Linked DNA regions of Homo sapiens: all the other regions are linked to region 1. Evidence: promoter capture Hi-C in 16 types of primary human blood cells and fetal thymus (Javierre and others, 2016). All regions are on one chromosome and are shown on one strand. Each heading gives the region's core, a stretch centred on a gene start or on the middle of the fragment in contact. The rest is flanking DNA. Distances are from core to core; before and after follow the strand shown. Region 1 holds the start of SLC29A1 (solute carrier family 29 member 1 (Augustine blood group)). Region 2 overlaps XPO5 (exportin 5). Region 3 overlaps POLH (DNA polymerase eta). Region 4 overlaps POLH (DNA polymerase eta). Region 5 overlaps RSPH9 (radial spoke head component 9). Region 6 overlaps MRPS18A (mitochondrial ribosomal protein S18A). Region 7 has its middle 14 kb from the start of MRPS18A.

Region 1 (4,060 bases), core at 1-2,500:
GATACCAGCTCAGAGCATCTGGTGTCCCTCCAACTATGCCTTGGCCTGCTGAGGTGGGCCCCTGAAAGTAGCCACCAAATTGAGTACCTCCCTGCCTCCAGACTCCCAACACCTCTCCTGCAATTCTCCACTCCCAGGATTTCATATGGGGCTAGCCACTACCTGCAGATCTCTTGTCTTTTCTTCACAACCACCCATAAGCTAGTACTAGCACTGAATAGATGGGGCCAGCTGAGGTTCAGAGGGGTTGAGTCACTTGCCTGAAGTCACAGAGCTGGTGAGTGGAGGAGCTAGAATCCATATTAAATGTTCAAGCTCCTTTTGGAATGGAGAGAGGTATAAAAGCTGCTTCTCAGTTAGCCCTGTAGACTGGGAGGTGGGGGGAACTCTGATTCAACTAAAGGGAAAAATGAGGTGGAGACCAAGATCATTCCCAGCCTGACTTGAGTGTCAGGCAGCTCAGCCCCGCCCCATCACACACATCCTGGCATGGGGAGCTTACACAAGCAGGAGGAAAGTTGGAGGGTCTGGAGGCCACCGAGAGGAGTAGGCAAAGGGACTACCACAGGGCTGCAGAGAGACCCCTAGAGGTGTGAGGGCAGGGTTGGAGCCAGCCTTGACCTACGACTGCTCTCTCCTGGTAAGCAAAGCCGAGGACTGTTTGTCTTCACCCTCTCATATACCCTCACAGTAAATCAGTAAATGAAGACGTGCGCAGGAAGGAGACGCCAGGGATACGAGTTTAGCCAGTAAAAGACCGGGGTTAAAGAGACAGCCCCGCACCTCCGCTCGCGAGCCTGCACCTCCGCTCGCGAGCCTCCATCCCCATCCCCATCCCCATACCCCTCCGCCAGCGCAGTCAGCGGCACGGCCCCTCCCTGATACCGACCAGATCGATGGGGATCACCCGTCCACTCGCCTGCCCCTTGCGGAGGTCAACGTGACCGCAGCCTGTTTTAGGCCCGGGAGCCAGGCCGCCCCGCCCAGCTTGGGTCCCGGTCCCCGCAGGGTCCTCAGGCTCCCTGGCCCGTGCGCGCCACGTGCTGCGCGGCTCCGCACGCTCCGCACTGGGGCCCCACCCGGCGTCCCTTCTCCGGGCTGCGGAGCCGTCAGGCCCGCCCTCCCTGCCCTCCGTGGCAGGCGGGCAGCGGCGTCTTCCGCCCCGGCAGTCCCCAGTCCCCAGTCCCCGGCCCCGGGCAGCACCTGCCGCAGAAGCACTGCTCCCGCGCTGAGATCCGCGCGCTCTCGCTGCAGCTTCCCTCTCCCGCCGGGGCACATTCAAACCCGCCCTCCGCTGAGCTCGCCCCGCCCTGCGCCCACTGCCACCTCCCCGACGCCCGCGGCCCCGCCCCCGGCCCACCCCTGCCACCCCGCGGCGACTCCGCGCGCTCCGCCGCTCCCACCCCGAGCCCCTGCGCCCCCAGGGCCGCCTGGTCGTGTTATTGCGGTAGATAGGACCTCTTTGGGCCCTGCCACACCAAGGCTGTCTGTCCATCGTGTGGGGTACATGGGGCTGGAGGGTACAGCCACACATTAAGGACCTGCGCAGACTCCCATAAAATTCATCTCGGGACTGTTCCATTTACACACCCGCTGCTCAGACCGGCCCCGACGCTCCACGGCCCACTCCACCTCAGATATTCCGTTATCCCTTCCCAAGCCCTGCCCACGCCGCGCTTCCTCCACACTGCACCTTTTTCCTCCCAGCGCCCTCCCTTTCAGCGCCCCCTTCTTTCTTTCAGTCCCCCTCCTCTTCTTTTCCTTCAAAACTGCTTCTGTCCCCACCGCGCATTTTCTGTGACCAGCATGATGGGTTTTCCCATCCCTGACACATCCAGTCCCAGCCACAGACGCGCAAACACCACCCCACTCACAACTTTGACTTGGAGGGGGTATGTGCCTCTGCCTGTGCTTGCGTGTGCGCGCGGAGGGGGGTGGGGCAAAGCCCTCCAGCTCCCTCATAATTCACCCTTTCTAAATCCAGCACTTTGGAAAACTGAGGCACAGGTGGGAATGGGAAGAGAAAAAGCTAGGAACAGCCTTATATCCTCAGTGAATCCTATTGTCCCAGCCATCCTGACAGGCGGAAGCCTTGCTGAGTATGTCTTTCACTAGCTAAGGAGGAAGGTGTGGGCGTGCTGAGGGGTGGTCCAGCAAGTCCCTCCAAGGGAGGGGGAGGGAGGCCCTCTCTTTGGTCGGGCAATAAATGGGGTGGGGTGGGGGGCACTCCCTGCCCTTCCAGCAGTACTCAGTGCTAGAGGATGATCCTAAGGCTGGAAAGGTCCTGAGGAGAAAATCCAACCCACGCTGCCCACCCCATGCCCACTGACCCGAAGGGCTTGTCCCCTAGAGAAGCCACAGACACTGATTAACAACTGGCAGTACCTCACATCATAGGGATAAGGTAGTCCTACCCTGTCCCCAGAGAAACAGACAGGGCCCTAAGGAGAGAGGTGGCTTTTCTAATTAGGGTCAGTGGCTCTCCCCAAGCTACTCCAGAATGGGTGTCCCCAGCCTTCTGTTTCCATGCCCCACAGAGATGACACACATATTCCTTCCCAACCCTCCCCCACCCCACCCCCATCCCCCACATCCCCGCCAGCCCTAACCAGAGGGCAGGAAGATGGGTTTAGGTGGTATTTTTCCAGGCACAGCCCCATGACTTGAGAGTGGCTTCATGTCTGTCCACAACCCCCTAATTCCTGCCCTCATGTTTGTCCAGTCTCTCTCTCTTCCTCTCCTAGCCCTCCTCTGCCCTCTGCCTTGGCCCCCTTCCTCGCTCCCCACCCTCCTTTCCTGGTCTCTGGGTCTGTGGGGGTGGCAGGGCTAGTGGTCAGAAGATCTGCCAGGCATGGCAAGGCTGGTGGCCAGTGGCTGCAGTTGTGTACAGAGGGGGCTGGAGGTGGAAGAAAACTGGAGGGAAGTGGTGAGGGTCTCAGGCCAGACTGGGAAAGGCTGGTTCCTCTCCCCACCCAAACTGGGGCCCTGCCAGCTCGGTGGATGGCAACAGCCAGGGCTGTTATTGTTGGAGAGAAGTCCGTCTGGCATCCATCCTGCTGGGCCCCTAGCCAACACCCACACCCCTCTGTAGCCACCTCCCAAGCAGAGGTTGCTGGGTGCCAGGGCCCCCTGCTGGACAGCCTGGGAGCCCCAACTTACACAGGCCTTGCCTGGAGTTTTTCTAGCCAGGCCTTGCCAGCTCTCTTCAGTCTCTGCCTGGTCTTCTGGCTTCTCTCCCTCCCTGAGCTCCCTCAGGTCCCTGTCGAAGGGGTGGGGTGGGAAGGGTTGGTCCTGCTGCACCTCTACTCTACACCTTATTCACCACCCTATATGGGACCGTGGCTTGGCCCAGACTCCCTCCCCAACTTGGCAGGCCCCATGCATGCCTCACCACCTCACACACAGTCCTCTCTCTCCCCAGGCATGTGTCCTCTCAGCTGTCACCAACAAGTCATGTGTGTTTGCTGGAAGTGTGTTTGCTTGGCCTGGGGGTTGGTAACCAGCACATGTCTCATGACTGTCTGTGTTCTCAGTTGTGTTTGTGACTGTATCTCCATGGCCTTGTGACAGGGCTGGGACTAGGGAGAGGCCAGTGAGGCACTTGCCAGGGGTGTAAAATGTAAGGGGGAGCCAAAAAACTCATGAATCAAGATAAATTTTAGGCCAGGAGTGGTGGCTCATGCCTGAAATCTCAGCACTTTTGGAGGCCGAGGTGGGAGGATCACTTGAGCCCAGGAATTCAAGACTAGCCTGGGCAACACAGTGAGACCCCATCTCTACAAAAAAAATTAAAATAAATTAGCCAGGCATGGTGGCTCGAGCCTGTGGTTCCAGGTACTCCAGAGGCTGAGGCCGGAGGTTCACTAGAGCCCGGGAGGACAAGGCTTCAGTGAGCCATCATCCTGCCATTGCACTCCAGCCTGGGCAACAGAGCAAGACCTTGTCTGAAAACACAAACAAACAAACAAAGATACATTTTAATGTAATCAAAATAAGTTTGTTTTTTTTTTTCTTTTCTTTAAGATGGAGTCTCACTCTGTCACCCAGGCTGGAGTGCAGT
Region 2 (4,060 bases), core at 691-3,190, 650 kb after region 1:
GTTAATACAATTCAAGCTTACTTGCCCATAAAACAACGTGTGTGGGCTGTGAGAAATGGCCATTTAGGAGAAAATACTTGTGCTGTACATTTTTAAAGTGATGTTAACTTCAAAAAAGAGAGTGACCACCACTTGGAGGAAATGTTACAATATGTAGATGTCTGCCACAGGGTTTGGAATCAGAAACAATTGGGTTCCATTAGTTTGGTTTTTATTATTAATATTTAAAATAGACACAAAAGTGGAGAGAATACGACAGTGATTCTGCATGTTCCTGTCACCTAAATTCAGCAATCAAAGATTTTACCGCATTTACTTTTTCCACCGCCTATCCTCTCTCCCTGCCTCGAAGGTTTTTAAAAGAAACCCTAGAAATTGTTATTTCACCCCTATGTACGTCAGGGGGATGTCTCTAACAAATAATTTCTTATTCCTTTGTGTCCATTTTTTTCCAACACTAGTAGGGCTACTGTTGGCCGTAGCATGGAAAAAATCTGGAACCATCACGCTGGAAGGAATGTTTATCAGTTCTTTATTCATAATATATATATAATATATACACATAAAATAGAGTGAACACCACTTGGAGGAAATGTTATATATGTGTAACTTTTATATATTTTATATTTTTATTTTTATATTAAATATATATTTTTAAAGCAACTGTGCTTGGAGATCCACATAATATTGATCTAGGTTTTGCAACTTTAAACATATAGCTTAGGTTGGAGTTTCTTTTTGAGTAGGGTCTCACTCTGGTTGTCCAGGCTGGCGTGCAGTGGTGAGATCTCGGCTCACTTCAGCCTTGATTTCTCGAGCTCAAGTGATTCTCCTACCACTTCAGCCTCCTGAGTAGCTGGGATTACAGGCACCTGCCACCATGCCCGGCTAATTTAAAAAAATATTTTTAGTGGGCCGGGCACAGTGGCTCACGCCTGTAATCCCAGCACTTTGGGAGGCCAAGGCAGGTGGGTCACCTGAGGTCAGGAGTTCAAGACCAGCCTGGTCAACATGATGAAACCTTGTTTCTACTAAAAATACAAAAATTAGCTGGGTGTGGTGGCGTGCACTTGTAGTCCCAGCTACATGGGCTCAGGAGGCTGAGGCAGGAGAACTGCTTGAACCTGGGAAGCAGAGGTTGCAGTGAGCCGAGATCATGCCATTGCATTCCAGCCTGGGCGACAGAGTGAGACTCCGTCTCAAAAAAAAAAAAAAAAAATATATATATATATATATATTTAATAGAGATGGGGTTTCGCCATGTTGCCTAGGCTAGTCTCAGACTCCTAGACTCAAGTAGTCCACCCATCTCAGCCTCCCAGAGTGCTGGGACAGGTGTGAGCCACCGCACCCGGCCCTGGTTGGAGTTTCTTAAGATGAAATTCTTTTAGTCCCTATTCTCTCAGCCCTCGAAAGGAAACACTAACTTTTCTTCTTTCAGTTTTGTGAGGAGTTTAAAGAAAAGTGTCCTATCTGTGTCCCCTGTGGCTTGAGGTTGGCTGAGAAAACACAAGTTGCCATCGTCAGACATTTTGGCCTTCAGATCCTGGAACACGTTGTCAAGTAAGGAGCTCTTGGACATTACCACTGAAGTCTGAGAGAACAGATCTTTATATCTTATATAACCTATAGAGATGCTGTTTAGGTGAGTAGAGAAGAGCAATCTCCAAGAAGAGAGGAATGATCCCCTAGATGTTATCAGAACCTCACAGGAGCTCTCATTCAAGATTTAACCTTTCTTTTCTTCAGTTTCTTCATCCATGTAAAGTGTGTGGTACATATTACCCATTCAACAAATATTACCTGCCATTTAGCCAATACTTACTGAGCTCTGACTATATGTCATTAGCCCTCGAAGCCTTTTTAGAGTAATGCAATGTATAGGTCAATGAATCTCTGATTAGGCACTGTGGCTTTCTTTTTTCTCTCTGTCTTTCTGAGTTTGTGTGCCTTCTCTGGGTGGTACATCCAAAGCAGGATTGTATGAGAATAACTGAAAACCCATCCTAACTTGATTGTCCTACCCTCAACACCTATCAGAAGAGGTAGCCTTTAAGACTTAGCCATAGTTTTTCCAGAATTGTTTTGTAAGCCAGCACAGAAAATGACTGATGTCAAAACTGCATTTTCTGAAAAGCAAGTACATTGTTGCAGTTGACCTAGATGTATATTCACTTTTGGCCCATCAATAAAATCATGAGGCAAAGCTGACGTGTGGTACAAATCTTGTGCGGATTCCAGTTAATGGACCACTGCATATATAAAACCTTTTCCCAAGAATTTTTGTGTTAGTATTTTGGTTAAATGTAGATCATTTTTGCCCATTCATTGACAGGTACAAAATCAAAAGTATAATTTCTTAATGAAATCTCCAGTGTAATCAAATGTAGAAATCCATGCTATTCTCTTGTAAAGACAAGACTTCTAAAGTGGTTCTATTGACTTTATGCATTTTGGTGGTCAGGTTTCGGTGGAACGGCATGTCTCGATTGGAGAAGGTGTATCTGAAGAACAGTGTCATGGAGCTGATTGCAAATGTAAGGAATGGGTGGTTGGGAGACATGTTTCCAAGGTAGTTTAGGCAAAGCGTGACTTCTTCAATAGGGAGTTTGTGTAAAAATTCACTGCTTCTAAATAGGTCAGACAGCACAAGAAATCATAATTTAGGCCAGGCACAGTGACTCACACCTGTAATTCTAGCGCTTTGGGAAGCCAAGGTAAGAGGATCACCTGCATCTAAGAATTCGAGAGCAGCTTGGGCAATGCAGTGAGACCCCATCTCTACCAAAAATGCAAAAATTAGCTGAGCGTGGTGGCGCATGCCTGTGGCCCAGCTACTCAGGAGGCTGAGGTGGGAGGATTTTCTGAGCCCAGGAGGTCCAGGCTGCAGTGAGCTGTGATGGTGCCATGGCACTCCAGCCTGTGCAACAGAGCAAGACCCTATCTCAAAAACAAAACAAAACAAAAGCAGAAAGCATAATTCAGCATATGTCTCTTACTAGGTTTAATTAATCATGCTTATGTATTGACTTCTATTTTTTAAATTATAAAGACAGGGCAGAGGGGATTAAATATTTTCAACAAATCAATAAGATTCTTAGATCTAAATTAGATTGAAACACTATTTTCTTTTATTCCAAACAACTACTATGTGATACTAATGATGAAAAACATGCAGAATTTTAAGTATGCAGAATGAATTTGTTTCAAGTATTAGAATATGACTTTTTTTTTTTTTTGAGACAGAGTCTCTGTTGCTCCGGCTGGATTGCATTAGCATGATCATAGCTCACTGCAGCCTCGAACTCCTGGGCTCAAGTGATCTTCTCGCCTTAGCCTCCCAAGTAGCTGGGATTATAGGCATGTGGTACCATGCCCAGCTAATTTTGTTTTTGGTTTTTAGAGAGACAGGGTCTCACTGTGTTTCCCAGGCTAGTCTGGTCTCAAACCCCTGGCCTCAAGCAATCCTCCCACCTTGGCTTTCCAAAATGCTGAGATTACAGGTGTGATGACTGGATGACTGTCTCTTTAAACACAAAACAGAATATGACTTTAAACATGTTCAAAATTGTAGCCTTTTTTCTTTCTTGGTTTTTTTTAAATAACAGACATGAGAGATGGGATCTTCTAATACTTCTGCGTCTTCTAGTGTTAGAACTATTGGTAAAATATTCATTTGCCCCTTCATACCCTTCCATTTTACCAGCTACTCACTATACTCCTTATTTCTATACTCTTCCTCCCTGGCCTTCTGCAAACTGAAACAATCAATATGAGAATCTTTTCATTTTGTAAAGAATAATGATGTCATCCTAGCTCTCGATATGACAGCCTTTTAGGTGATGCAACCCTCACTTAAGCTTTAAGCGGAAGAGTGATTAGCAAGAATGCAGGACAAGTGACTCAGGCTGAAGAACAGGTTCATTTGTTCTGTTTGGTTTAAAAGTAGGCCTGCTGATAAATTTTTTACAACTCTACAGCCCAGCTTTTTTCTGGAAGTCTGGAATCCAGTCTTGCATATCTCTTAATATCTCTTGTTCTTTTTCAGGGAACATTGAAC
Region 3 (4,060 bases), core at 50-2,549, 630 kb after region 1:
TTGTGCTATCTAATGTAGAAATGCTTAGATTACAGGTATTTAGACATATAAGTTTTCACAAAAAAATGGCAGCCAGCTTAGAAGACCAATTATAAGAGAGCTCAATTTCTCCTTCAGAGTGTTCCCGCAGCTTAGCTTCAGCATAGGCTGAATTTTATAGTGCTAATGTACGACAAATATTTTGTATTAATATCATCTTTCATGAGCAATGATTTTAAAACACATTTTTGGCCAGGCACGGTGGCTCACGCCTGTAATCCCAGCATTTTGGGAGAGCAAGGCGGGTGGATCACCTGAGGTCAGGAGTTCAAGACCAGCCTGTCCAACATGGCAAAACTCCGTCTCTACTAAAAATACAAAACTAGCTGGGCATGGTGGTGCAGGCCTGTAACCACAGCTACTCAGGAGGCTGAGGCAGGAGATTCGCTTGAACCCAGGAGGCGGAGGTTGCAGTGAGCCGAGATTGCGCCACTGCACTCCAGCCTGGGCGACAGAGCAAGACTTCATCTCAAAAATAATAAAAATAAAAAAAAATAATGTAAACACATTTATCTCCCCAGTTCTCTTGAATTTTCTTTCTCCTACTATATTTAATCACTTAAACATCTTCTCCAAGAATATTTTTTTCAATTAGAAAATATTCAGAATTAACTCAAGCTTCAATATAAGCTTTAACATTTACATGTTTTTAGAGGTGGATTCCAGCTGAGTAACTTAAAATCCACTCCGAGGCACTAGATTTATTCCCTTGATAAGCTGTTTTAAGTCAGATGTTGCTTGGGACTTAGGACCTTGAAAATATCTTACTCTGAGTACATACAAATCTTTATCCCCAAATGTACACTCTAATCCCTTAGCTCTACCTCCCTACAGAAGAACTTTTCCTGACTCCCTACAGAAGAACTTTTCTTGAATTTTTAATTATGGTTTCCAACTAAACATAACTAAAATCAAACTTTGTCTTCCTTCTCAAATGTTCTTTCCAACCAACTCCCTATTTCTATTAAGGGCTTAAAATCCACATTAATATTGGCTTATTTTCTCTTTCATTCCTCATTATGCAGCCATTTAGTCAACAAAACCTACTTTAAAATATTTCACATATCCACTGCAACCCACCACCCTATTTTATTCAGGTTTTTTCTTTTTTCTTTTTTTTTTGAGACGAAGTCTCACTCTGTCACCCAGGCTGGAGTGCAGTGGCATGATCTCGCCTCACTGCAAGCTCTGCCTGCCGGGTTCACACCATTCTCCTGCCTCAGCCTCCCGAGTAGCTGGGACTACAGGCGCCTGCCACCACGCCCAGCTAATTTTTTGTATTTTTAGTAGAGATGGGGTTTCACCGTGTCAGCCAGAATGGTCTCGATCTCCTGACCTTGTGATCTGCCCGCTTTGGCCTCCCAAAGTGCTGGGATTACAGGCCTGAGCCACCGCGCCTGGCAAGCTCTTACCCCTTAACTCTGTTCTTCTTTCCTTTGCTTAAACACATCTATACTTTAGGGCTTATGGCAAGTTTATCTATTATGAAGTCCTCTCCTTCAACTATTCTAGCTAGCTTTCTAGTACCACATTAAAGTTCTTTACCTTTTATCTGTAATATGAAGTAGACATAATTGTTTTATTTTTTGAGACAGAGTCACACTCCGTCATCCAGGTTGGAGTGCAGTGGCATGATCTTGGCTCACTAATATATACTAGTATACATTATTTTAAATGATGGATGTTTTAATAGTATTCATTGTTCTTAATATGTGCAAGCCTTGGTGTTTCAGGAAAATAGGTAATTTAAAAAAAAAAAGAAAAATACATGCAAGCCATTGTGCTGAGGAACTTTATTTTATTTATTTAATTATTTATTTTTGAGATAGAATCTCGCTCTGTTGCCCATGCTGGAGTGCAGTGGAGCGATCTCGGCTCACCACAAGCTTCACCTCCTGGGTCCACGCCATTCTCCTGCCTCAGCCTCCCGAGTCCACGTCATTCTCCTGCCTCAGCCTCCCAAGTAGCTGGGACTACAGTCGCCTGCAACCACGCCCGGCTAATTTTTTTGTATTTTTTTTAGTAGGGATGGGGTTTCACCATGTTAGCCAGGATAGTCTTGATCTTCTGACCTCGTGATCCGCCTGCCTTGGCCTCCCAAAGTGCTGGGATTATAGGCATGAGCCACTGCGCCCGGCCAAGGAACTTTATTTTTAAAAACTATCTTTTGGGCCATGTGCGGTGGTTCACGTCTGTAATCTCAGCACTTTGGGAGGCCAAGGCAGGCAGATCACAAGGTCAGGAGTTTGAGACCAGCCTGACCACCATGGTGAAACCCCGTCTCTACTAAAAATACAAATACAAAAATTAGCCAGGCGTGGTGGTGCACACCTGTAATCCCAGCTACTCAGGAGGCTGAGACAGGAGAATCACTTGAACCCGGGAGGCGGAGGTTGCAGTGAGCTGAGTGACACTCCACCTCAAAAAAGAAAAAAAAACTAAAAAAAAAAAACCTGTCTTTTGGCAGGGCATTCTCTGCCTCCTGAGCTCAAGCGATCCTCCTACCTTGGCCTCCCAAGTAGCTAGGACTACAGGCAGATGCCACCACGCCCAGCTAATTTGTATTTTTTGTAGAGACGGGGTTTCACCATGTCACCAAGGATGGTCTCAAACTCCTGGACTCAAGCAATCCCCCCCCATATGCCCCCCACCTCCCCAGCCCCCAGCCTTGGCCTCACAAAGTGATGGGATTACAGGTGTAAACCACCATGTATGGCCATAAGAAGTAGAGCATAATTGTTAAAAGAACATTCTGCAGTCAAGCAGGGTTCAAATATTGGCTTCATAACCTACTGACCATGTGACTTTGGACAAGTTACATAATTCTCTAAGCTTCAATTTCCTTGTCTACAAACTGCACTTCATATAGCTGTTATGAGGATTAAAAGATAGTTTATTATTTTTTATTTTTTTTGAGACGGAGTTGCTCTGTTGCCCAGGCTAGAGTGCAGCTCACTGCAACCTCCACCTCCCAGGTTCAAGCAATTATCCTGCTTCAGCCTCCGGAGTAGCTGGGACTACAGCTGTGAACCTTCAGGCCCAGATAATTTTTGTATTTTTAGTAGAGATGGGGTTTCACCATGTTGGCCAGGCTGGTCTTGAACTCCTGACCTCAAGGGCTCCCAAAGTGCTGGGATTACAGGCGTGAGCCACTGTGCCCGGCCAAAAGGTAGTTTTTAAAAATAAAGTTCCTCAGCACAGTGGCTTGCGCATTTTTTGCTTTTTTTTTAATTATCTGTTTTCCTGAAATACCAAGGCTTGCACATATTAAGAACAATAAATACTATTAAAACATCCATCATTTAAAACAATTTATACTAGTATATATTAGCTTTGGGAAACAAAAATATGAATAATTTACTGTAATTGTATGACTTTCTGGACCTTTTTAAACAGTTAGAGCTAAATTTTCTCTGCTTTAGATTTTTTTCATCATTGCTTTCCCAGATTGGGTAATGTTGCAATCCTGTGGCAATGTAGATTTTTAAATTTAATCCTTTATCTGTATTAACTGAACGGGACCACAGAAGATAAGCAGAATTCCCTTATTTCCCTACAATGCTTTTTACCTTTTCTCTAGTTGATAAGAAAAATCTATAAAATTTTGGTTTTTCTTCAATACCATGAAATGGACTACAGGAAATACTTCAGGTAGTTCTGGTGTTAAATGCCCATGAAAGCTGAGAAAAAACTTTTCTTTCTTTCTTTTTTTTTTTTTTTTTTTTTGAGACGGAGTCTCACTCTGTTGCTAGGCTGGAGTACAGTGGCGCAATCTCAGCTCACTGCAACCTCTGCCTCCTGGGTTCAAGTAATTCTCCTGCCTTACCCTCCCGAAAAGCTAGGATTATAGGCATGCGCCACCACACCCAGCTAATTTTTGTATTTTTAGTAGAGACAGGGTCTCACCATGTTGGCCAGGATGGTCTCAATCTCATGACGTCATGATTCGCTCACCCTGGCCTCTCAAAGTGCTGGGATTACAGGCGTGAGCCACTGTGCCCAGCCAAGAGTTTTTCTTGTT
Region 4 (4,060 bases), core at 1,092-3,591, 600 kb after region 1:
TTCATCTCACACAGGGAAATGAGAGACGTCACTTAAGACTCTTCTTTCTTTCTTTCTTTCTTTTTTTTGAGACAGAGTCTCGCTCTGTTGCCCAGGCTGGATTGCAGTGGAGCGATCTTGGCTCACTGCAACCTCTGCCTCCTGGGTTCCAGCAATTCTCCTGCCTCAGCCTTGAGTAGCTGGAATTACAGGCGCCTACCACCATGCCCGGCTAATTTTTGTATTTTTAGTAGAGATGGGGTCGTCACCATATTGGCCAGGCTGGTCTTGAATTCCTGACCTCAAGTGATCCACCTGCCTCAGCCTCCCCAAGTGCTAGGATTACAGGTGTGAGCCAACGCGGCTGGCCTAAGACTCTGCAAAGCAGAGAATGAAACCCAAGGGGATAACTTGCTCCTTCAGTGATTAGGTGTTCGGTGTTGTTAAACCAGCAAGTGTCTCTCTGTCCACCATCACTGCTGGCCTTTTATGAAATTAGTCTTCTGATTCTGAACTCTGGCAGTGAGCCCTGTTACATCCAAGTCAGAATTTAGGGTTCTTCCCCACTTGAGGGACTCAACCCTAGAAGGGAAGGAATGCTCTGGGTGATCCTAATAGAGAAGTAGGTATGGGGACCTTGGCTGACACTGTGCCACCTGCCCTCTGGGCTGCAGTGGGATTTGCCGTGAGGGGGACCAGCTGGTGGTGGGCCCCACGGATGATGGCTGCTTCCTGGAGCTGAGAGTATGCAGCATCCAGCGCAACCGCTCTGCCTGTCGTGTGCTGCGAGCTGGTCAGGCTGCTACACTGGCGCTTGGGGACTTTGACCGTGCACTGCTTCGCAAGGTGAGGTGGGTGCATGGGTTGGGGAGGGAACGCTAAGAGAAGTGCCTAGGAGACTGGCTACTGAATGAGCACCTATCTAAGGTGCTTCAGAGAAACTCAGAGGAAACACACTCTCTGACCCAAGAAGCTTCTGGTCTAGCTACGTAGACTATAAAAACAGCTTAACGTACTCATGAGGTACAGATAACTAAATATGAATCACTATGTTACACTGTTTTTAATGAACACTATTTTTAGTGTTCAGGACCCTAAAAATGTGAAGCGTTAGATGGGCTAGAGGACGTAGGAGGTGGGTAAAGACTCATTCCCTCTGAGAGTTTTGATTATTGTCTTTTGAGGTCTTTGTGTTTAGAGTTGTGTAGAGGAAGAGGAAATTCAGGAGCTATAAAGGGTGTGGGGTGGCTGGGGAGGGAGAGTCTGATGTTAGAGCTGCCCTTCCTGGGCCTGGGGTCTGTTCCTCCCCAGGGCATGGTGATGGTGAGCCCGGAGATGAATCCTACCATCTGCTCGGTGTTTGAGGCAGAGATAGTCTTACTGTTCCATGCCACCACCTTCCGACGAGGATTCCAGGTGACAGTACACGTGGGCAACGTACGTCAGACGGCAGTGGTGGAAAAGATCCATGCCAAGGTGAGAGGGACCTGGCCTTCCATTTCTCCAGAGGTCAGAAAAGAGGGAGGCCTGCCCCAGACTGGCAGAGAACTCCTTGATCCCACAATGGGAATAAAACCCCACTTAGGGTGGGTAGCGGCCTGATAGGCCTCTGGAGGGTGGAGAGCCACGGCTGGCAGAGAATGGGACAGAAGGCACTGGCCAGGGGAGTGACCACTTATTTGCTGCAGGACAAACTGCGGACAGGCGAGAAGGCAGTGGTACGTTTCCGCTTCCTGAAACACCCAGAGTACCTGAAGGTGGGCGCCAAACTGCTGTTCCGGGAGGGTGTCACCAAGGGCATCGGCCATGTCACTGATGTACAAGCCATTACAGCAGGAGAAGCCCAGGCCAACATGGGCTTCTGAACCCTTCAGGCAGGGACAGTTCTATTGCTGTCCCTACAATATATAAGGTGACTTCTGGCCATGCTGCCCTGCCATTGGCGGCTCTGTGTGTTAATAGGCTAGGGAGAGAGGGGTGCTGTCTGCCACTTGCTCCCTGCCAACTTTCTGGAGAGGTGCCAAACTTGGTGTGGCCAGGAAAGGGCAGTCCTGAGGGAGAAGACAGGATTCAGGGCAGTGCTCCGAAGCTGTGTGCTCACCTGGTTGGCTCATCAAACCTGGCAACCCTGTGGCCTGTCTGCCGGAGCTGACTGGATCCACTCATCAATTCTTCGTCCCCACTACTAAGACTGGGCATGTTTTGCTGGTGTGGTCTCTGCACTTCAGGAATGGTCACAACAGGGGGTAGCCCTCAAAAGCACTCCTTTTTCTATACCTCTTCTCAAGGCCATGTAAGTTGCCCATCTCTACCTGGCTGTGGACAAAAGGTTATCTGCTCTTGGCCATCTGGTGGTGGTGGCGGCCCAGAGTCTGAAGAAATGGCACAGGGACAGTGAATGGTAGTGTTGCCACCCTGTGCTGAGGCCTGAGGCCTCTTCCTCAGCTTTATCTCCCTTTCCTTCACTCAAGGGCCATTTCCCCAGTCCCTATCTCCCCCATCCCCTCCCGGCTTATAGGCCCCACAGGTGCTATTTGTTGTGCTGGCCCAGGCGTGGGGCTACCAAGCAAAGGCTTGGCATATACCAAAGGCCAGCTGCATGCCCATCAGTCTGGTCTTTTTCCTCTGCGGTCATGTTGGCTTTCATGCTGGATCAAATGTTTTACTTTCCCAGACTGGTGGCATCTGAGTTCCCCATCCTACCACTCTCACCCCACTTTCCTGCCCCACCTAAACCCTCGTTTTAGTAATTTGTAGTGACTGTTCCCTTCCCTCTGTTGCAGGGAACCAGGAGGAAAGGGAAAGATGTTGCCATATTTCCTACTCTTTAGGCATGGACTCTCCTTTCCCTTTGTTAGTGTCCTGGGTTCCCATGGACTCAGGGATTTGTTGGCTAAGGTTTCTCTGTGCATATATATATATATACATATGTATATATATTTAAATACACATATATATTGTACAGAATAAAAATGTTTTATTGAATACACTGTGCTTATGCGTTAGCTACAGGCTCAGCTTCCTTCCAGGGCTAGATACCTCTTCAGGATTAGAGACAAGTGAAACCCCAACACTGCTGAGCCCTGAATGTGGAAAGAGCCCAGCTGGTATCTCGTTCACCATTGTTTTTCTCTCCTCCACATAGGTTCAGAGTTCCAGTATTGTAACCAAGTATTGTGGCCTATTTTCCGTAGTTCAAGTGAGCAGAATACTGAGGCCTTTCACGTGAAATAGGTAGCTACCCTGTATTTGAAGAGTTGGCCACTTGCTAGTGGTCAGAATAGTAAGGAGCCCACTTCTGTGCCCTGGCAGAGATACAGTGCCAGCTACTTAAAGAAGAGTAGAATTTAGAGACAAAAGGTAATCTGGTCCCATATTTTTCAAGTTTACATAGCCTAAATTACTCTTGGAACAATGAGGGCCACTTGACCAAACCTTAGTCCCTGCTCCTGTTTCCATGTTCATACTACTTGATTTTGACATTTTATGGGTAAATAGGGGCCAAAGTCAACTGTAAATAGAAACTGCATTTTGAGGAGACCCTGGAAAAGAAATATGTGACCCAAAGTCCTATGTGGCATTCTGCCTCTAGAGTATTAAAGTGATAGCTTCCCTACCACTCAGGCTGTTTTATAAAATGTAACTGGTTTAACTTGCTACTAACAAGCCTGTAGTTGAACAACTTCCTCCTGTATTAGGGGCTAAGCTGTTTACTTCCTCTCTATAGCTGCTGATAGAGATGAAAGCTTTGTCCACAATTTACTTATCTTTTGCCTGTATTGTAAAGAAAATTTTGGAAAATCACATTTCAGTACTTAATAAGACATCTCCAGGAACTAGTGAGCCTCTCTGCAACATTAATGGAACATTTAGGGGGATAAAAAGTATATAAGGCAGACTCCCAAGGAGTTTATACATGTTTATGATCCCAATTGTGGTAATCAGATCTAAAATTCTTCACTATATACATTCATCCAATGAGTATCAGCACCTATCATGTGCAAAGCACTATGAAGAATCTTTGCCTTTAAGAAGCTACATAGCTAGTTAGGGGGAAAAGGCCACGTATACAGTGAATGTA
Region 5 (4,060 bases), core at 403-2,902, 570 kb after region 1:
GTGCTTGTAATCCCAGCTATTCAGTAAGCTGAGGCAGGATAATTGCTTGAACCCAGAAGGTGGAGGTTGCAGTGAGCCGAGATCACACCATTGCACTCCAGGCTGGGTTACAAGAGCGAGACTCCATCTCCAAAAAAAAAAAAAGACTTCAGTGGAGGAAGTAACTGCGGATGTGGTGGAAGAAGAAAAAGAACTAGAATTCAGAAGTGTAGCCTGAAGATGTGACTGAATTGCTGCAACCTCATGATAAAACTTGAATGGATGAGGGGTTGCTTCTTACAGATGAGCAAAGAAAGTGGTTTCTTAAGACGGAAGCCACTCCTAGTGAAGATGCTGTGAACATTGTTGAAATGAGAACAACAAAGGATTAAGAATATTACGTAAGCCAGGTTTGGTGGCTCAGACCTGTAATCCCAGCACTTTGGGAGGCTGAAGCGGGCAGATCACGAGGTCAAGAAATCGAGACCATCCTGGCCAATGTGGTGAAACCCCATCTCTACTAAAAATACAAAAATTAGCTGGGCATGTCTGGGCATGGTGGCTCACACCTGTAATCCCAGCACTTTGGAAGGTCGAGGTAGGCGGATCATAAGGTCAGGAGATTGAGACCATCCTGGCTAACAAGGTGAAACCCCGTCTACTAAAAATACAAAAACAAAGATTAGCCAGGCATGGTGGCGGGCGCCTGTAGTCCCAGCTACTTGGGAGGCTGAGGCAGGAAAAATGGCATGAATCCGGGAGGTGGAGCTTGCAGTGAGCCGAGATTGCGCCACTGCACTCCAGCCCAGGCGACAGAGCAAAGACCCTCCACCAGCAAAAAGATTATGATTCGCTGAAGGGTCAGGTGATCGTTAGTATTGTTACGAAATAAAGAATTTTTAATTTTTTTAACATTTTTAGACACAATGCTATTGCATACTTAACAAACTATAGTATAGTACAAACACAACTTTTCAAAAAATGTGTGACTCACTTTATTGCGATGTTCACTTTATTATGGTGGTCAGGAGCCAAATTTGCAATATCTCTGAGATATGTTCGTTTCTTTTTTTTTTTTTCTTTTTTTTTTTTTTTTTTTGAGACGGAGTTTTGCGCTGTTGCCCCAGGCTGGAGTGCAGTGGCGCAATCTCAGCTCACTGCAACCTCTGCCTCCCAGATTCAAGCAATTCTCCCTACCTCAGCCTCCTGAGTAGCTGGGTTTACAAGCGTGTGCTACCATACCCAGCTAATTTTTCTATTTTTAGTAGAGACGGGGTTTTGCCATGTTGGCCAGACTGGTCTCGAACTCCTGACCTCCAGTGATCTGCCCACCTTGGCCTCCCAAAGTGCTGGGATCACAGGCGTGAGCCACCGCACCCGGCTGGTGTGTTCATTTTCATTTGAGTCCTTACTATGTGTTAGGCACTGTTATAAGCATTTTGTGCATGAGTTAACTCATTTAATTCTTGCATCCAAATACTCACCAGGCCTGACCCTGCTTAGTTTCCAAGATCAGAAGAGACTAGGCACATTCAGGGTGGTATAGGAGTAGTCCATTTAATTCTCATAACTCGTTGAGGTAGAAAATATCAATTCTCCCCTTTTTAGAAATGAGGAAACTGAGGCACAGGGAAATGGAGGGATTTGCATGAAGTCACACAGCTAGTAAGTGGCCAATTCAGGATTCCAACCCAGCCTGTCTGATTCCACAGCCCTTGTCATCCCCATCCCCATCCTGAGATACCCCCCAGTTGGGTCGCTTGCTGCTCTTCAGAAGTGTTTCCCCCTAGAGGTGTGGGTGACTATTGTCCTGTGGTTCCTATTGTCATTTAAACTATTGTTTACTTAACAATCCAGTTCATGCCAGAACTGTGGAGTCTAACACTTTAACACTTACTGTGTCCTTGGGTTTAACTCTCTGAGCCCCTGTTTCTTCATCTGTAAAATGGGGATAAAAATAATAGGCTGGCTGTGAAGATTAAAATGAGATAAGGCATGGCAAGAGCTGAGTACGGTGCCTGACACATGATAAGCAGTGTCACATTTCATGAGTTAGTTGTTATTGTTGTCATTATCATTGCCATCATCATCATTAGATCCCTCTCATTCTCAGGAACACCCAACAAGGGAAGAGAAAGAAGTGGGGCGCTGAGTCTGTGCCTTGGGCCTGGCCCCCGATGGCCTAGAGCCTAGAACCTGAATTGGGTCATAGAATCCAAGGACATGCTCTTCTCTACCAGAGATGCTCAAGGGAAGGAAATGGGATCAGCACCACCAGCTATGGGCCAAGCATTATATCCAGTCCCTAAATACCAGAATCCCAAAAGTAACAGTTGAGATGTAAGTATGGCTAGTATTTTCAAGGATATTTGGGAGAAGATTCCCAACCTGCCCCCATTCAAGATTGCTACAAAAATCAAGAGACATTGAGATACCTCCTCTCTGTGAAAGCATATGGAAAACAATCCTACCTTTTGTAATTCAAGGACACTCATCAGTGTGTACTATAAGCTGGGCCCTGGGGAAGCTCCACCCTCAAAAACCCATGGTGAACCACCAATTCCCACTAGGCCCTTGGTTCCAGTCTCAGAGGAAAATGGCAGGTGGCATGGCCCACTGCTATGGCCTGAGGACAGATCCCATGGCCTCCAGGTAATGGACTATTACCTTTGGGAATGTCATGCTCCAAGGAGTCCATGAAATCCAGGGAGGGGTCCAGGTCAGCCTTCTCAAGCAAGGTCTTATTCTTTAGCTCAACAGGCTCCCTGAAATGGAAGTAGGAGCTGAGCTTCTTGGCCTCAGACAAGGACAGTCCTAGAAAGAGGTGGCAGGCAGGAAAATGATGGTTAGCCCAAAACCCCCCAGCCCCCTTTCTGTCTGCACTGGGACCACATGGTAGGGCTTACAAAAGACCCTGTCAACCACTGTCAGAGAGCTAAAGGAAGGAAAGGGATTAGCATTCCCTCAGTCCAAACTCGGACCAGATCCTGCCACAAAGAGAGTCCAGCCAGGCACGATGGTTCATGCCTGTAATCCCAGCACTTTGGGAAGCCGAGGCAGGCAGATCACCTGAGGTCGGGAGTTTGAGACAAGCCTGGCCAACATGGCAAAACCCCGTCTCTACTAAAAATACAAAAATTAGCCGAGCGTGGTAGAGGGTGTCTGTAATCCCAGCTACTCGGGAGGCTGAGGCAGGAGAATCGCTTGAACCCAGGAGGCAGGGGTTGCAGTGAGCCAAGATTGTGCCACTGCACTCCAGCCTGGATGACAAGAGCAAAACACCATCAAGAAAGAAACAAAGGGAGGGAGGGAGGGAGGGAAGGAGGGAAAGAAGGGAAAGAAGGGAAAGAAGGGGAAGGAAGGAAGGAAGGAAGGAAGGAAGGAAGGAAGGAAGGAAGGAAGTCCAAGGAGGAAGGAGATAGGAAAAGGCAGGTAGCCCAGACCCATGTAAAGCCCTGGGACCAAGGGACTATATGCTCTCCCACTCCTCAAACTGAAGAGAGTCAGGGGCCAGGAGATGGGGAGCCCATACCGACCACTGGTGCCAGGTCACTGGGCACACCCTCCCAGGTGATAAGGTCACAGCTACTCCTTCTCTGATAAAGTGTGTAAGCCCCCCTGCTGGACTCCCAGACATATGTTCTACTGTGCTTGGGAAAAGATACCCCCAGCCCTTGAGAGGGGCCCCAGAGAACTCACCTTCAAAGGTCCGATTGACATGGGTGGGTCCAAAAGGGGTCTTGAAGAGGGCGCCTCGGGGGATGATGGCCACAGCCTTGTCAATCTGGTCAATGACAGACACCAAGCGGGTCTCTTCCTTGATCTGGACCTGAGGAGACAGGAGAGGAGCCCCCCTGCCAGGGCACTGTGCCCAGGCACCCCGGCGCAAGGTCCCTCTGCACGGCCATCTCACCCGCACCACTGCAGTGTAGTGGACCCCAGAGCCACACAGATCACGCTGGGCAGGCCCTCGCCTTCCTTCCTATCAAGATTTTCTTCCTTTCTTTTTATTTGTTTTTTAATTCGTAATACATAAGGGTGGTATGATATTCAAAACTACAGGAAAAAATCAGTCTTTCTC
Region 6 (4,060 bases), core at 829-3,328, 540 kb after region 1:
AGTCTCTTTTATTAAAGAGTCTCTGGATCACGAAGGAAGGCCATCTGGGTACCCTCCCAGAGCCTCCCTTTCCACTTTCCCTTCTCAAAATGCTGTGATCTGATGGCGGCGTTCTCTGCCCCGGGCCGCTAGTCTCCCTGTGAGGGGGAGGCCAAAGTGGAAAGGCCATTGAATAGCTGAGACATAGGCAAATGCAGGATGGTAGTTCAGCTTTTCATTAATCTTAATCTGGGAAAGCGGCCTGATTCGAGCATCAACTGAGAGTTTACTGAATGCCAAGTGCTATGCTTCAAGCTGTGAAGGAATTCTGGAGACAGAAAATACAGCCCTTTTTCTGAAAAGCTTAGGTTCTAATGAGATTATGTATATACACACTCCAATAAATGCAAGTTAGCCTTTTACGTGACGAAGTACAGGGAGACTCAGTTACTGGAAACGGCAAACCCAGTTGGAAGTTTTCATAAAGAGGATGTGTCTTGAGCAGGCTCACAAAAGGATGGAATCTGGCGGAGAGTGAAACGGTCTTTTAGGACATAGCCTTCCTTTGTGTACTCCTGGAAGCAGGAAAGGATGAGTGATGTGCAAAAGAAGAGATGTGGGGTTTTTTGAGGATCTGGCATAGTATTGGGCAGCATATCCTTTAACGAAAGCTGAGAAGTATCCAGTGGAAAAGAGTGATCATTGTTGTCAGAGGGAGCAGAAAAGTCTAAAAAGGGCCTAATGAAGGGGCCATTGGATTTGTCTCAGAAGAGGTCTCTTTGTAGCTTTCAAACAGCAATTTCAATAGAGTGGCAAACAAGGAATCCAGTTTGGAGAAATGAAAGAGATAGTTGATGAAGAGATGGAAATAGTAAGTATGTTTGAAGAATTTAGCCCGTAAGGGAAGTGGAGCATTTGCTAGAAAAAAAAGTCTGGATATTGCCTGATTAACTTATCCATTAGTAGACCCATTAATAAAGACACTAAAGAAATCATGCAGATGATAGAGAGGACTTGGATGTTTCATTTGTTCCCATGCTGCAAAATAGGCATATCTCCATACCATTTTGGGGAGTCTACCAAGTGTCAAACACTATTGGCTACAATTTGCATATTCTTATGAAATTCAAAGTTGAGGCAGATTTTGCTATGCTTCCAGAAAAAAAGGCAAGAGGAATCGTTTTGTTTTAACAACAAATATTTGAAGTTAGACTTAATTTTTTCCTTTGGAGAGTTTGTGAAATGATGGACTGTAAGCCAGGTACAGTGGTACATATCTTTAATCCCAGCACTTTGGAAGGCCAAGGTGGGAGGATCACTTGAGCCCAGAAATTGGAGTCTAACCTGGGCAACGTAGTGAGAACGCCCACCTCTTTAAAAAAAGTAAAAAAGGATGGACTGTAAATCAAATGGGTCTCTGAAGTCCTTCATCTAAATGTTAGGTTGAATTAATATGATTCTACATGAAGGCACTACCATATTCTATATTCTTAAGAATCACCTATCTTCAAAGCTTGTAAATGAAAACATTTTCTTTTGCTAGTCTATGCATTATGTGTAAGGCATAAAGTATTATACATATAGCTAATTTTGACTAGTCTCAGCTGGTATATGTGACACCCAAACAATATTGTACACATAGAATTTAAAGTTGTGGGAAAGAAGCTGGTTCTCTTGCTGAAAATATTCAGGCATCCTACTTTTCAAAGTATCAGATAATAATACATAATTTTAGTCAGCTCTTGAGGACTGAGCACCAATTTTCCTGTCTATGAAGACTTTCAGTCTAAAACAGTGATTTTCAACTGGGGGGCAATTTTGTCCCCCAGTAACAATTGGCCATGTCTGCAGACATTTTTGGTTGTCACAACTGGTACTACTGGCATCTGGGGGGTAGAGGCGAGGGACGCTGCTAAACATAATGCACAAGTCAGTTCCCCACAACAAAGAACCATCTGGCCCAAAATGGCAGTCCTGCTGCTGTTGAGAAAGCCTGGTTTAAAGTTTGACCAGAGAGATACACAAAGCCAAAAAAAGGTTATTATGGGAAAAGCAAGACTGAAGGAGGACGAAAATAGAAATTGTGACTTACTGTGCCTGCTTCAAATACTGTGCTAGGTTTTCCACATACATTTATTCAGTCTTCTCAAAAACACCTTAAAGGTAGATATTAACTGTCCTCATTTTTATAAATGAGGAAATGCCGTTCCAAGGGGTTTAATAGCTTGCCCAGCATCACCTGTCTAATAAGTGATGGAGTTGGAAGTAGAGCCAGCCCTCTTCCCTCTCCACCAGTAACATCACCTTGGTATTCCATGGCAGGGCCTCCCTTATTGTTCCCTCCTTCCCTGAAAGCTCTTAGCAGTTAACTTGCCAAAGACCATTTAGTGCCATTATGGTTGGCACTGCCAGATTTAGCAAAGACTGTGTTGGATCTCATTCCTCCCTTATCCCTCTTAGAGCCCTTGTGAAGGAAATGTATTTAAAATAAAAAAACAAACATATTATTATATAAATTAAGACATGATTTGTCAGACACTTAGAGAAAGGTATATTGAAGTGAGTAAAGGCCAAAGGGAATTTGCTTCATCTCTTTCACAGTCAGTTAAGAAGGCCTTCTGGAAGACCTAACGTTTCAGACAAGGGTATGCCTGGCAGGTTGGGCAGTCCCATATAAAAGCTTTGAGAGAGGAGTGAGTTGGAGTCTTTAAAGAATTCAGGGGACATAGTCCAGAGTAACCTGCTAGTGGGAAGAAATTTTTGTGCAGCAGTAAGACGACTCATTCTGAAGCATAGGGCAGAGGGACATTCCCTCAGGGGTCCAAGGGAAAGAAAGGGGGAGGTGATGAGGGAACCAGAAACTTTAATGGTAGAGTTAAAGATGAACTGGAGGAAGCAGGGCTTGAGGCAGGAAGGTGTTTGCAAAAAGTTGTCAGTGGCCAGAAATGCAAGCACACATCCCAAACATGGCACACCTCTCCCTGACCCTACATAAGACTATTAGGGCCACTGCCCAGCCATCAGTTACTCCAGTCTTTCCTACTCTGCTTGGGCCCTGGTTTTTACAGATCCTCTCCAAGAGGGACCTTGGTCTCTGGGCACTTCAGCAGTGCCCTGCACTCCTCATCTTTTTTCACTTCCTCTTTTATTAAGCAGTTGAGTCTTTACATGGCTGCAGTTCACTGTGTCTGTTCATGTGGCCATCAAGGTTTTTTGCATTTTCTGTGTTTGTTGTTGTTGTTGTTGTTTAAGAGACAAGGTCTTGCTGTGTTGCCCAGGCTGGCCTCTAACTCCTTAGCTCAGGTGATCCTCCTGAGTAGCTGAGACTATAGGTGTCACCCCATCTCCTCCTTTTGCATTCACTGCAATCTCACCACAATGTCATTTGTTCCACACTGTTATAATTCAGTTATCTTGGACTCCATCCTGGGCAAGTATTTACTGAAGTACTCAAAGGACCTCTTTACGAGGCATGGACTTTATTATAGTCAAGTTCCCATGCAGAGTTTAGTTCTTTTCCTCCTCTAGGGCAAAGACTGTGGCTCCTATTCTACTGTAATTCACAGTAGGTAGAATGAAGCTGTATAGTCCATAAGTGCCCAGCAAATGTGTTGCCTCACTGGGGACAGATTATTTCATGTGTATGAGAAGTGCTTATCTGGAAAGATTTTGGCCCTTAGTTCCAGTTTAGAAAACTGCTTCATCTCTTCCCTTAGCTTACTTGATACTGCCATATCTCAGAACACAAGGGTGATTCCATCTTTTTCTAAACAAGTTTTCTGTTACTGCCTAAATCTCTCAGTCCAGCTTTTCTTAGCCACCCCCACTTCTCTTGAATAGGGAGGCAGCCAGGAACAAAATGGATCAGGTTTTGTTTGGTTTTGACACGTTTTTGTATGCACCCTGTAAATCAATACTATTTTGATTCCTATCTCCTCTTTCGAGGGGCTTAAAATCTACTAAGGGCCTCAAGGACCAGGTTCCAACAGGGCCTTCTCCCCCTGCACTAAGACACCACCCTGATCAGTGTCAGTTCAATGTGAGTTCTCAGGTCATTCCTTCTGGTTTGACAAATTGTCTC
Region 7 (4,060 bases), core at 842-3,341, 520 kb after region 1:
GGTGCTCTTCTCAATGCCTTTCTGCATTAGCTCATATAATCTTCACAACAACCCTACCAAGCAAGTTCCATTATTATCCCCATTGTACAGATGAGGAAACTGAGGCACAGAGCGACTAAGAAACAGTGTGTTGTTCAAATACTGTCATGTTCTATGGGTGCCATGATGTATCTGTGGCTAGGAAGTAGTTTTCTAGAACGTGGCTTTAAATTAGACTCACTCGGGGATCTTCTAAAACTCCTGATGCTCAGGCCACAAACTACACCAATTAAATCAGCATCTCTGGAGGATGAAATTGTCAATGGTAGTTTTTAAAGCTCCCCGAAAGATTCCAAAGCGCAACTGAATTTGGGAACTAGGGATCTGGGCCAAATCCTTTAATCCTTTATAATTAACGCACATGGAGATGTCACGGCGCAGAGAGAAGTGATTGCACAGGGGCACACAGGAGGGCAGTGGCTGAACCTCTGTCCTCCAGTGCCCAAGGTAGGTCTTCTTCTGCACCCCCAGCCCCTTCCTCCATGTTGCTGTAGGCACTGAGCTGGCAGGCTGCTAGGCCCACATGGATCTTACAGGTCTTGGCTCAAGGCTGGCTTGGAGGAAGATCCCCAGGACAGGCTAACTGATCCCCCTCATCCCAACGTGCCCCCATTCAAGCAGCTCCACAGGCTGGATGCCTTAGGGCAGAGCCCAACCTGGAAATTCTCCAGGCTTGGACACCACCCTGGATTTAGACAGAGCTCAGGGAGACTCAGGATGGGTGGGGCTTGGGGCAAAACACCACGGGAGTTGTGCCACAGTCACAGGCAAAAGAGCCGGGGCAGGCCCAGAGGCTAATTTCCCTGACCCCGCCCTGTGGGGCCTGTGTACTCCCCTCCTCCTCTCCCCACCCTCTGATGACGCACTGACCCCGGCCCTCCCCCTCAGTTCCCTCACCCCTCATTGGGAGGTGACGGAAATTCATTTCTGGCGGCCTGAGGGCTGTCAGCAACTTGTTTTCATTCTAGGGTCTGGCTGGTCCAGATAGGTCCATCCGGGCCCTATGTCACACAGGGGACACACACACAAACACACACACACACACACACACACACAAACACACACATTCACACACCCCAAACAGAACCTCTGGAGGAAAAGAAGGGAGGCACTCCAGGGGTTCTGAGTCACGGGATTCAGGGCATTCATAGCCAAATGCCACTCTTGGGAAAGCGGTGGAGCAGTTCACAAGGAAAGTCAAAGAGGCTGGACAGGGAACCAGTTCTCCTGTAGTCTTCCTCCGCTCTCCTCTAGCCCAGTGGTTCTCAACCCTGGCTGCACATAGAACCATTTAAGGAGCCTTTAAAAAACGCTGCTGCCTGGGCTCCAGCCCTGAGAGAGTTCAATTCAACTGTTCTGTTTAACTCCGGGGAGAGGCCAGGCCATCATCTTTTAATTCCCTGGTTGATGCTGATGAGCAGCCAGGAATGAGAGCCCTTGCTGATGGAATCATCCAGGCAGGATGGATTCACTCCCAATCTCACTGGGCAGATGGTCAGGGGAAGAGTCTGCCCTTTCTGTTGGAGAGGGGAGGGAGGTGTTGCAGGCAATATACCCCAAGACCTCATCTTCATGTCCATCATCAACACAATTCAGTAAAATGGTGGTTAAAGAACAGGAGCAGGTGCTCATTCTGGCTCTCCCCTTTCGTCACCTCGGACAAATTACTTGGCTTGTCAGAGCCTCAATTTCTTCATTCATAAAATGGAGAGAATAGTTGCCACCTAGGAGGTACTTGTGACAATTAAATGATTAAGTCTACACAGTCCTGAGCACATAATAAGCAATCAATAAAAAATAGGCTTTAATAATAAAAAAATGAAAGCCGGTTTGTACACCTATGTTCATAGCAGCTTATTCACAACAGCTAAAAGGCAGAAGCAACCCAAGTGCACATAAGCAAAATGTGGTTCGTACATGCAATGGAATATAACCTTAAAAAGGAAGGGAATGGCCAGGCGCAGTGGCTCACACCTGTAATCCCAGCATTTTGGGAGGCCAAGGTGGGTGGATCACTTGAGCTCAGGAATTTGAGACCAGGCTGGGCAACATGGTGAAACCCCATCTCTACAAAAAAATACAAAAAGTAACGGACATGGTGGCACATGTCTGTAGTCCCAGCTACTTGGGGGGCTGAGGCAGGGGGATCACTTGAAACCGGGAGGTGGAGGCTACAGTGAGCAAGATCATGTCACTGCACTCCACCCAGCCTGGGGGACAAAGTGAGACCCTGCCTCAGAACAAAAAAAAAAAAAGGAAGGGAATTCTGACACTTGCTGCAATATGGATGAACCTGAGGACATCATGCTAAGTGAAATAAACCAGTCACAAAGAGACAAATACTGAGTGATTCCCCTTATATGAGGCACCTAGAGTCATCAAATCCAGAGACAAAGTGAAAGCGTGGTGCCAGGGAAAGGGGAAGAAGAGGGAATGGGGAATTTGTGTAAATTAATGCAGAGTTTCAGTTTTATAAGATGAACAGAATTCTGGAGATAGAAGGTGGGGATGGTTGCCTAACAATATGAATTTTTTTTGTTTTGTTTTGTTTTGTTTGTTTTTTTGAGATGAAGTCTCACTGTGTCACCGAGGCTGAAGTGCAGTGGCGCAATCTCGGCTCGCTGCAACCTCTGCCTCCCAGTTCAAGCAATTCTCCTGCCTCAGCCTCCTGAGTAGCTGGGATTACAGGCACCCGCCACCACGCCCGGCTAATTTTTTTTTTTTTTAGATGGATTCTTGCTCTGTTGCCAGGCTGGAGTGCAGTGGCACGATCTTGGCTAACTGCAACCTCTGCCTCCTGGGTTCAAGCAATTCTCCCGCCTCAGCCTCCTGAGTAGTTGGGATTACAGGCACGTGCCACCACGCCCAGCTAATTTTTGTATTTTTAGTAGAGACGCAGTTTCACCGTGTTGGCCAGGATGGTCTCGATCTCTTGACCTTGCGATCCTCCCGCCTCGGCCTCTCTAAGTGCTGGAATTAAAGGCATGAGCTACTGCACCCAGCCAATTTTTTGTATTTTTAGTGGAGACAGGATTTCACCATGTTGGTCAGGCTGGTCTGGAACTCCTGACCTCAGGTGATCCACCCACCTTGGCCTCCCAAAGTGCTGGGATTACAGGCGTGAGCCACGGCGCCCAGCCATATGAATGTATTTAATACTACTAGAGCTATACATTTAAAAATGGTTAAGATGGGCTGGGCGCGGTGGCTCATGCCTGTAATCCTAGCACTTTGGGAGGCCAAGGCAGGCAGATCACCTGATGTTGGGAGTGCAAGGCCAGCCTGACCACCATAGAGAAACCCCATCTCTACTAAAAATACAAAAAATCAGCCAGGCGTGGTGGTGCATGCCTGTAATCCCAGCTACTTGGGAGGCTGAGTTAGGAGAATCGCTTGAACCCGGGAGACGGAGGTTGCAGTGAGCCAAGATTGTGCCATTGCACTCCAGCCTAGGCAACAAGAGTGAAACTCCATCTCAAAAAAAAAAAGTTAAGGTGGTAAAATTTATGCATATTTTGCCACAATTTTTAAGTTGGAGAAAGAAATAAAATAAATAAAAGACAAAATTAGCAATCCAGTTGCCCTGAGTGACTCTGTACTCCTAGAAAAGAGTGGACATATGGCCCTGGCTTCAGGCCTCCCCTTCTGAGATAGACACCAGGGGACAGATGCTCAATGAATGAACTCAGGATTTATGCTGATAATAAACAGGAAATAATAGATCGGTTTAAATATTTACATGGTGGTGTGCAGGCTTCAGGGCAAGGACATTACCAGGGAGGGGAGTGGGGGGTCAGACAGAAGACACAAAGAGAATGTAAATGTTAGTGGAACATGGGGCTGAAGCCACCCAGACGTGTCTTTCAAGCGCACTCAGGAAGAGAGGGACAACTGCAGGAGGGGAAAACCCCTGCCCAGGCTCAGGGAGTCTGCCAGAAGCCTGGGCCACCCCGTTCCTTCCTTCCAGGGGAGATCCTTGTTTACCTTGCGAGGCTGGAAGACAATGTAATCAAATTATGAC

What was found. Contacts are between HindIII fragments. The CHiCAGO score rates a contact against its expected background, and 5 or more counts as called.
Region 2: a fragment that was not itself captured here is called in contact with the fragment with the promoter of SLC29A1 in region 1 in 1 of 17 cell types (erythroblasts); the score reaches 6.0 in erythroblasts.
Region 3: a contact is called between a fragment that was not itself captured here and the fragment with the promoter of SLC29A1 in region 1, in 1 of 17 cell types (erythroblasts). The highest score is 5.2, in erythroblasts.
Region 4: a contact is called between a fragment that was not itself captured here and the fragment with the promoter of SLC29A1 in region 1, in 1 of 17 cell types (erythroblasts). The highest score is 6.1, in erythroblasts.
Region 5: a fragment that was not itself captured here is called in contact with the fragment with the promoter of SLC29A1 in region 1 in 3 of 17 cell types (monocytes, activated CD4 T cells and naive CD8 T cells); the score reaches 7.8 in monocytes.
Region 6: a fragment that was not itself captured here is called in contact with the fragment with the promoter of SLC29A1 in region 1 in 2 of 17 cell types (naive B cells and M1 macrophages); the score reaches 6.3 in naive B cells.
Region 7: a contact is called between a fragment that was not itself captured here and the fragment with the promoter of SLC29A1 in region 1, in 1 of 17 cell types (activated CD4 T cells). The highest score is 5.3, in activated CD4 T cells.

What each region holds. Positions count from the first base shown.
Region 1 is chr6:44,220,785-44,224,844 of GRCh38, reverse strand. It overlaps SLC29A1 (solute carrier family 29 member 1 (Augustine blood group)), which reads right to left and starts at 1,250. Exons shown (of 13, transcript NM_001372327.1): 1 at 1,204-1,250. RefSeq lists enhancers at 171-320, 563-1,421 and a silencer at 1,011-1,410. The HindIII fragment of the contact is 15,932 bases long and covers 1-4,060 here.
Region 2 is chr6:43,570,983-43,575,042 of GRCh38, reverse strand. It overlaps XPO5 (exportin 5), which reads left to right. Exons shown (of 32, transcript NM_020750.3): 2 at 1,442-1,563; 3 at 2,465-2,537; 4 at 4,049-4,060. Among named protein-coding and RNA genes, the nearest start is that of XPO5, 3.0 kb to the left of the region's middle. RefSeq lists an enhancer at 3,678-3,727. The HindIII fragment of the contact is 3,844 bases long and covers 19-3,862 here.
Region 3 is chr6:43,593,584-43,597,643 of GRCh38, reverse strand. The region is part of intron 4 of POLH (DNA polymerase eta); the gene reads right to left. Among named protein-coding and RNA genes, the nearest start is that of POLH, 19 kb to the right of the region's middle. The HindIII fragment of the contact is 1,256 bases long and covers 672-1,927 here.
Region 4 is chr6:43,619,398-43,623,457 of GRCh38, reverse strand. POLH (DNA polymerase eta) reads right to left here. Exons shown (of 11, transcript NM_006502.3): 11 at 2,935-4,060. It overlaps GTPBP2 (GTP binding protein 2), which reads left to right. Exons shown (of 12, transcript NM_019096.5): 10 at 654-825; 11 at 1,291-1,455; 12 at 1,668-2,964. The coding sequence ends at 1,844. Among named protein-coding and RNA genes, the nearest start is that of GTPBP2, 7.8 kb to the left of the region's middle. The HindIII fragment of the contact is 2,773 bases long and covers 955-3,727 here.
Region 5 is chr6:43,655,310-43,659,369 of GRCh38, reverse strand. RSPH9 (radial spoke head component 9) reads right to left here. Exons shown (of 5, transcript NM_152732.5): 3 at 3,679-3,808; 4 at 2,647-2,793. Among named protein-coding and RNA genes, the nearest start is that of RSPH9, 12 kb to the right of the region's middle. The HindIII fragment of the contact is 7,215 bases long and covers 1-4,060 here.
Region 6 is chr6:43,683,278-43,687,337 of GRCh38, reverse strand. All of the region lies in intron 1 of MRPS18A (mitochondrial ribosomal protein S18A), which reads left to right. Among named protein-coding and RNA genes, the nearest start is that of MRPS18A, 2.5 kb to the left of the region's middle. RefSeq lists an enhancer at 3,181-3,230. The HindIII fragment of the contact is 1,167 bases long and covers 1,495-2,661 here.
Region 7 is chr6:43,699,758-43,703,817 of GRCh38, reverse strand. No RefSeq gene overlaps it. Among named protein-coding and RNA genes, the nearest start is that of MRPS18A, 14 kb to the right of the region's middle. RefSeq lists a silencer at 727-826 and an enhancer at 1-914. The HindIII fragment of the contact is 6,909 bases long and covers 1-4,060 here.